Regions from separate parts of the Homo sapiens genome. Here all the other regions are linked to region 3. The links are contacts of gene promoters, found by promoter capture Hi-C in human tissues and cell types (Jung and others, 2019). All regions are on one chromosome and are shown on one strand. The core of a region is centred on a gene start or on the middle of the fragment in contact, and the rest is flanking DNA. Distances in the headings are between cores, read along the strand shown. Region 1 overlaps ARMC12 (armadillo repeat containing 12). Region 2 overlaps FKBP5 (FKBP prolyl isomerase 5). Region 3 holds the start of ZNF76 (zinc finger protein 76).

The links. Contacts are between HindIII fragments. The study calls those that stand out against the background at their distance.
Region 1: a fragment that was not itself captured here is called in contact with the fragment with the promoter of ZNF76 in region 3 in 1 of the 25 tissues and cell types used here (spleen).
Region 2: a contact is called between a fragment that was not itself captured here and the fragment with the promoter of ZNF76 in region 3, in 1 of the 25 tissues and cell types used here (neural progenitor cells).

The regions. Positions count from the first base shown.
Region 1 is chr6:35,740,771-35,743,470 of GRCh38, reverse strand. All of the region lies in intron 3 of ARMC12 (armadillo repeat containing 12), which reads right to left. Among named protein-coding and RNA genes, the nearest start is that of ARMC12, 5.1 kb to the right of the region's middle. The HindIII fragment of the contact is 4,861 bases long and covers 1-2,700 here.
Region 2 is chr6:35,592,653-35,595,352 of GRCh38, reverse strand. The region is part of intron 6 of FKBP5 (FKBP prolyl isomerase 5); the gene reads left to right. Among named protein-coding and RNA genes, the nearest start is that of LINC03135, 50 kb to the right of the region's middle. The HindIII fragment of the contact is 3,978 bases long and covers 1-2,700 here.
Region 3 is chr6:35,258,316-35,261,015 of GRCh38, reverse strand. ZNF76 (zinc finger protein 76) reads right to left here and starts at 1,281. Exons shown (of 14, transcript NM_003427.5): 1 at 1,175-1,281. SCUBE3-AS1 (SCUBE3 antisense RNA 1) reads left to right here and starts at 1,561. Exons shown (of 4, transcript XR_001744102.2): 1 at 1,561-1,726. RefSeq lists silencers at 849-1,168, 1,179-1,298. The HindIII fragment of the contact is 24,264 bases long and covers 1-2,700 here.

The sequences.
Region 1 (2,700 bases), core at 154-2,653, 480 kb before region 3:
CAAGGTGGGCAGATCACCTGAGCTTGGGAGTTCAGGATCAGCCTGACCAACATGGAGAAACCCCATCTCCACTACAAAAACAAAAAATCAGCGGAACGTGGTGGCACATGCCTGTAATCCCAGCTACTCGGGAGGCTGAGGCAGGAGAATCACTTGAACCCGGGAGGCGGAGGTTGCGGTGAGCTGAGATCGCGCCATTGCACTCCAGCCTTGGCAACAAGAGCGAAACTCCGTCTCAAAAAAAAAAAAAAAAAGTAAGATGCTTGGACCTAGAGGCATTACCAAAGACAGGTAACCTCACGAGCTGCACCTTTATGAGCCATGTAAGAAGTAAGCAAGAGTCCTGGAGTGGAAGTGAGCATTCCCATCAGTACCTGCCCTTCCCTTCCCCCACCCCTCAAAAGCCGTGGCGACCCGCAGGACAGGTTGGAGTCAGCAAGTCTGGGACAGGGTTTCAGAACGAGGGAACAGCAGCAAGGGGGCATGTGAGAGCATAAAGCATGCATTGTACGTGGCTGGGGTTAGGGCAAGGAGGTGCAGCCCATGGCCAATCACGCACTTTATGCTGAGAGCCTTGAGGCAGACCCAAAGGGCCTGATGGCCTAAGAGCCCTCTGGAGAGAGTGGGCTGATTCAGGGAATGGGGTGAGCTCCATTTTGGATATGTTGGGTTAGAGAACTTGGAGGGCATCTAAGTGGATATGCCTAGTAGCAGCTGCCCATGGGGAAGGCAGGGGAGCCCACAGGCTGCAGAGATCCAGAAGGGCACAGCTAGATGGAAATTGAGATCAAGGAGTAACTACTTTCACCTGAAAAGAGACCAGGGGTCAGGCCCTCAGCATAAAGACACTGGGGAAAAAAAGGAAGAGTGGGACTCAGGCCGCCTGCATCAGAATTTCCTGGGGGATTTGTGAAAAACAAAGTTCTCCTGTTGAACTGAACTCCCTGGGCTTTTTTTTTTTTTTTTTTTTTTTTGAGACAGAGTCTCGTTCTGTGGCCCAGGCTGGAGTGCAGTGGCGTGATCTTGGCTCACTGCAAGCCTCTGCCTCCCGGGTTCAAGTGATTCTCCTGCCTCAGCCTCCCGGATAGCTGGGATTACAGGTGCCCGCCACCACGTCCGGCTAATTTTTGTATTTTTAGTAGAGACGGGGTTTCTCCATGTTGGCTAGGCTGGTCTCGAACTGACCTCAGGTGATCTGCCCACCTCAGCCTCCCAAAGTGCTGGGATTACAGGCTTGAACCACTGCGCCCAGCCAAAATCTTTGCTTTTAACAAGCTCTCCAGGTGATTATAATATGCTTGAGAATCACAGCCTGACCAGGTGTGGTGACTGACACCTGCAATCCCAGCACTTTGGGAGGCTGAGGCAGGTGGATCACTTGAGCTCAGGAGTTCGAGACCAGCCTGAACAACATGGCAAAACCCCACCTCTAAAAAAATACAAAAATTAGCCGGGCATATTGGTGCATGCCTGTAATCCTAGCTACTAGGGAGGTTGAGGTGGGAGGATCACTTGAGTCCTGGAGGTGGAGGTTGCAGTAAGCCAAGATCGTACCACTGCACTTGAGAAGGCTGAGGGATGAGGCAGCAAGCAGAGATCTCTCTAGGTATTTTTTTCTGTTTGTTTCTCAATCTATTTTTATTCTTTTGTGTGTTTGCTTTTATTGATATATCATAGTTGTGCATATTTTGAGGATACATGTAAAGAGAATTTTTTCCCCAAAAAAGTTTGATGCCAAAAATTAAAATGTGGACCACGCATGGTGGCTCATGTCTGTAATCCCAGCAGTTTGGGAGGCCGAGGCAGGCAGATCACTTGAGGCCAGGAGTTTGAGACCAGCCTGGCCAACATGGTGAAACCCTGTCTTTACTAAAATACAAAAAAATTAGCCAGGCATGGTGGTGCGCGCACGCCTGTGATTCCAGCTACTCTGGAAGCTGAGGCACAAGAATTGCTTGAACCTGGGAGGCAGAGGTTGTAGTGAGCCGAGATCGTGCCACTGCACTCCAGCCTGGGCAACAGAGCAAGACTCTGTCTCAAAAAAAAAAAAAATTAAAATGTGAAATTATCAAACGTTAGGTTATGACACAATAGAACACTCGTGCAGGGCTGGTGGGGTGAAAATGGATACCTCCCTCCTGGAAAAGTTGGGCATACCCTTTGACCAAACCATTCCACTCCTGCATACACACCCTAGAATCCTCTCTCAGGCACACAAGGGAGACGAACACAGGAATGTTCACAGCACAATGTGAGTGTGACAAGCACCTGGAAACAATGCAAATGCCTAACAACGGGCAAGTGGCAGAGTATTCACGAAAGAGACCACCACAGAGCGGTGAAAGAGACCCAGGGGGGAGAATTGCTTGAGCCCAGGAGTTCAAGGCCAGCCTGAGAAACATAGTACTCCCGTACTCACTGAGCACACCCGTACTCCCAGCTACTAGGGGAGCTGAGGTGGGAGGACTGCTTGAGCCTGAGAAGTCAAGGCTGCAGTGAGCCAAGATCACGCCACTGCACTCCAGCCTGGGCGACAGAACGAGACCCTGTCTCAAAAAAAAAAAAAAAAAAAACCAGAAGGAAGCAGAGCTGCCCAATAAGGATGAATCTCTCCACGTAGCAGGGAGAAAAGGCCAACCACAGAATAGAAACCATCTACTTCCATGTACATGAAGCTTAAAAACATACCAGACTATATTT
Region 2 (2,700 bases), core at 179-2,678, 330 kb before region 3:
TGTATGTATTATGACAACATAATGTTATAGGAACCAGTTTATATACATTACATTTTAGCCTGGCTGACAAGGCAATTGTGGGGACAGATGTCTCAAGTTTAGTGACAAAGAAAAATAGAAATTGTCTTTAAATTTTTTAACGCAAACAGTTCTTTACAGATTTAAACTGTTTGTTGTATCATTAGTGGTTACACTTTGCTCTGTGCGCTTGGCCAAGGCACTTAACCCTCCTAAGCTTCAGTTTCCCCTCTGTAAATGGGGATGACAGTATCCATCTCATAAAGTTATGGAGAGCTAAATAAAATCCTGCACATATAGGGCACACATGAGCCCGCAGTGTGTGAGCTTTTGTTGCTATTGTGACGGCTCACCTTCTCTTCCATTTTACCCTCGGACCACAAGAAAAAGGAAATCCTGTTTAACATGAGATCAATCTTTCAGATCTTTTCAGGCATAAAAGTTGTCAATAGGTTTTCATAAATTTCTAGGTATAAAAGTTTATGAGTTTTATGGAAATAATTTAGCATATTTAGAAAGGAACATTATTTTTGTTCAAGGTGTTGGTATGTTGGAGAATTATGTGAAGTGCATTCTCTGTAATATGAGACTGCTGCATATGCATTGCGTAGTACTACATATATATGTAGAAAACCCCTACATGCTATATATGTGTGTGCGTATGCATACTGTGTGTATAGAAAACCCCCTACATGCTATATATGTGTGTGTGTATGCATGCTGTGTGTGTGTATAGAAAACCCCTACATGCTAAGCATGTTTTCAGTGCAGGCAGTGAATTTACTTGTTTTATTCAGCTTCCCACTTTCATAAAACATTGCATCTAAATGTTGCTATAAGTATGGCTGTTGCAGAAAATATCTGCAAATAGCTCTTAGTGTCATCTGTATTTCATTCTCCAGAAAATTTCCAAGGCAGACCTTCTCTGTGACTCTGATACTCTGATAGACTCTCGGGAAGAATGTTTTCTTTCTGTCCCTCCCCCACCCCCCGAGACAGGGTCTCACTTTCACCTAGGCTGGAGTAGGGTGGCATAATCTGTAGCCTCGAACTCCTGGGCTCAAGGGATCCTCCCACCTCAAGCTCCTGGGTAGCTGGGACTACAGGTGTGCTCCATCCTGCCTGGCTGATTTTTTTCATTTTGTAGAAACAGGGTCTTACTATGTTGTCCAGGCTGGTCTCAAACTCTTGGGCTCAAGCAGTCCTCCAGCCTCAGCCTCCCAAAGTGCTTGGGATTACAGGTGTGAGCCACCACACCTGGCCTAGAATGTCTTCATAATAAGAAAGTCATAAAACATTTCCAGACAATCCATTTTTCTTTCTCCTCATTGGGACAATATCTTCCCTTTGTATTGTTTTAAATACTGAGACTAATAAATCTTTTTTGTTTTAGGTCAAGTGTATATAGTTTTAACTTTTTTTTCCGTCCTTTCCTTATGTTTCTGTCACGCATGAACCCCAAACAAAAACACAGGCTATTGGTCAGGCAAGGTGGCTCACACCTGTAATCCCAGCACTTTGGGAGGCCGAGGCGGGAGGATCACTTGAGGTCAGGAGTTCGCGACCAGCCTGGCCAACATGGTGAAACCCCGTCTCTACTAAAAATATAAAAATTAGCTGGGCGTGGTGGTGCATGCCTGTAATTCCGGCTACTCGGGAGGCTGAGGCAGGAGAATCGCTTGAACCCAGGAGGCGGAGGTTGCAGTGAGCTGAGATCATGCCACTGCACGATGCCTGGGGTGACAGAGTGAAACTCTTGTCTCAAAAATAAAAATAAAAAAACAGACTACCAAGAGCCATAATGTCTAGTTATGAGGCAGTATGAGTCCAAAAAACCTGATTTTCTGGGGACACACAGGGTCTGAATTTAAACCTGGCTCTACCACTGCCTGTGTGTGACTTCTCAGGAAGCACTCTGTGTCTTTATCTGCAAAAAGGGAGCAATTGGTAAGAGCTTGTAGTCCAAGTGCTTCTTATATGCACATTAAGGCTTAATGGTCATTCATAGTCATTATTTGTATCTCTATTCTCTGGAGGAAACTCTTAATTCAAGGGCATTAACGCTGAATTCCTTCTGTTACCATAGTCTAGATTATCTTTTGGTTAGGTCTTGGGATTCCTCTTGTGGTGTTTTGTTTTTCAGTCAGATGAGTTGGGTGCCCTGGTTCCTTCTTCACCCAGGCTGACAACTTTCTGTGTAATATGGAAGTCAGGGTAGGTGCTGCCAGAATATCTTGGCGTGGGCTTCCACCTCTGCAGGATCATGTGCGCCACACGTATCTTGACTGAATCGCTTCATTTTAACCTGGGAGAGATTGTAGAAATAATATTTTTCTTTAGTCTTCTTTAATCCCATCAATAATAGGACACTTGGTGCCTCCCTTGATACAGCCCCACATTCCCCACAGGCAGATTTTCTCATCCTCAGCACTGTTGACACTTTGGGCTTGCTAATCCTTGGTCATAGGGGGCTGTCACGTGCATTGTAGAATATCCAGCAGTATTCCTGGCCTCTTCCCACCAGATACCAGTAGCACCCCCATAGTTGTGACAACCCATAATATTTCTAGACATTGCCAAAGGTTTCCTGGAGGGAAGAGGAGTTAAAATCAACCTGGTTGAGATCTGCTGGTCTAAGGCAAATGCCAGATCATTTGTTGCATTTGCAACTGCTTAGCACAG
Region 3 (2,700 bases), core at 32-2,531:
AAATGAAGCACTCTGCTATACTGCTTTGCAAACATGTTAACTGATGGGGCCTGATCAAGGGAAATGGGTATGCACTATGAAGAGTGAAGAGGGTGATCCGGGAATGAGGGAGTAAGGTTCATGATGCAAGCAGATCCTGGGATGAGGTTACAAGAGGAAATTTCCAGGGTGGGGTACAAAAATGATTGCAAAAAATTATTATCTTGACTGAGAACTGCATAATTTCACAATTTCACAGACGGAAGGAAACTCAAAGATCATCTAACCCAACCTCATCACAGTCATGATGAGAAACTGAGGTCCAGACTGAGGAGGGGACTTCTCACAGGTCCCTAAAGCACAGCAGTGACAGAGCTGGGACCACACACTGGATTGACTGGATTCTGGATTGATCCAGAATTCTCTGATGCCTCCAATTATTACTACTTCATATTAATCTCTATATCCTCCTTAGCACCAGAAAGGTGCTGGACGCTTGTAAGTCATGTGCTGATTGACACTGAAGGGCTGGGATCGCAGAGAGAGATGCCAGTGGGGGTGATTTTAGGATAAAGGCAGACGTGGAACGAGGGTCATACGGCTACAGGATAAAGATACTGAGGGTTGTGTACAAGGTGAGTGCGTGGAAAACTATTGGAGTAGGGCTTAGGAGTCGCCAGCAGAGTTTTGAGGGGAGTCACCGAGTTTGTGGGGAACACAAGGTAGAATCGGGGGGGTTACTGGGCCAGGAGGGTTACCCAGGTTTGGGGGTCACTAAGGAGGAGTGTGGGGATCTCAGGGTCATGTGAGTCACCGGATTAAAACTGAGGGAGTCACTGGTTGGTGGGTCTCTGAGAAGTGCTGGGGAAATTCCTGGGTTAGCAGCCAATGAATAATAACCAACGGTTACCTGGTGAGGTCTTGGGGTCAGTGGGTGGGGTGTGGGGTCACAAGGGTGGAGGCGGGCGCCGTCACGGGGTGAGGTTTGGGAGTCACGGGGGAGGAGCCGCAAGGCGGAAAAGAGGGGCAGGGACCCTGGGTGGGGGAGGGGGCCCGGCCGCGGTCCAGCGGCCAGGCCGCCCTGCTAGGGCCGGAGGGAGGTGGGCACGCCGGGCTCGGGACCTTCCCGGGGTCCTGCGCCCGCCCGGCCTCCCGCCCTGGGCATGGTTGGCCCACTCCTCCCGCAGCCACCAACCTGACAGCCCCCGAGGGCGACTCCGCCGACAGACCGCCATGCACCGGGCCCCGCCACCAGCGCCGGCCCCACAACCCGCCTGCGCCATAGCCCGCCCGCCCGCGCGCAGCTTGCCTCGCGCGATATCCAGGTTCCAGGGCCGCCGCACTTTCCTTTCCTCTTGGCGCGCCTCTACCGGGCCCCGGAACCCGTATAGAAAATACCGGGCACGGTCCACCCCGCCCCCCGCTTCGCCGCGGCAGCCATCCAACTTATCCTGGTTCCGGGGCTCCTGGAGCCCAGGCGGCCGGGATCTGAACCGAGCTCTTCGGAGCCCCGCCCCCACCAAGGCCGGGGTGACGCATGGCCAGCGAGGCTGAGCGCCCAGGGAAGGCGTGCTGACGTCACGACGCCCGGGTCAGGGCCTGGGCGCGGCTCGGAGCCGGGTCGTCGCTATAGCAATCGGGAACCGCTACCTGTCCATTCCAAGGATTCGGTCCAGCAGAAGCGTGAGGAGGTGGCGGAGGCCCCGAGGGCTTTGCGTCATCACTTCTGCGGCCTGCGGGCGAGAAGGTGCGCTTCGGGAGTAGCGCGGGAGGACAGGAGGCGCAGGTTGTGAGGGACGCAGGCCCTGGGGCTTCGGTCTCTGTCCTCCGAGCTCAGAGCCTCCAGGCTTCTTCCCGGCCGCGCGCTCAGCACTCACTGTCTTACGGTCCCGAAGCGCTTTAAGGTGCGCAGTCCGCAGGCCTTGCCTACTGATCTTCCAGCCACCCCTTGAAGGAAGCAGTTGCAGGTATTAAGAGCTCCTTATTGAAAAGGACGATGTAGAGGGGCGGTGAGGGACTCGCCTCCGCAGGGAGGGCGCCCTGGCGGTCTTCTCAGGTTCTCTCTCATTCCCGCGTCAGCTCCACCGTCAGGCTCGAAACCGACTACTCCCTTTTGTAGGCTTGCTTTGGGTTGAACATAAAAACCAAGCCCCTTTACTATTTCCCTGCTGGGAGGGGCTGCGATTGGGAAATTTTCAGAAACCTGAGGGAAAATTAAAAGGGAGCGAGCTTTCGGTAAAAAATCAAATTAAAAAGGAGGGGCGTTAGAGAAGGAACTGGTAAAGATTGCCTTTTAGGAGAGGAACTGGGTGGCTGGAAGAATGAGGTGAGAAACTTTCCCCTCTCTATCCTTTCAGACTTTAACTGGTTTCTTTTGTATCTTCCCCGCCCCGAAAACAATTTAACTTAATAAGAATAATTTTTAAAGGACGTAAACTAGACACAGTTACAAAGTACGGGGTTTGGGGCTTGTGGTAGCTAAAGGTGTCTTTGGGGATGCGGGCATCCTTTTCCTCTCCTGCCTGAAGAGCTTAACTAGAAAGCCCCCCTTTCGGTCTTAGACATCCCCTCTTCCTGACTTGTTCTGGCTGGGACCAGAGTTCAGTTTAGGTAGGCCAGTGAGTGACATTTGATGGTTAGAATTCCTACGGTTAGAATTAATCCCTTCTGTATCTCCTAGTATGGAAATAAACTGCCTGGCCACTATGCTGCCCTCTTTCC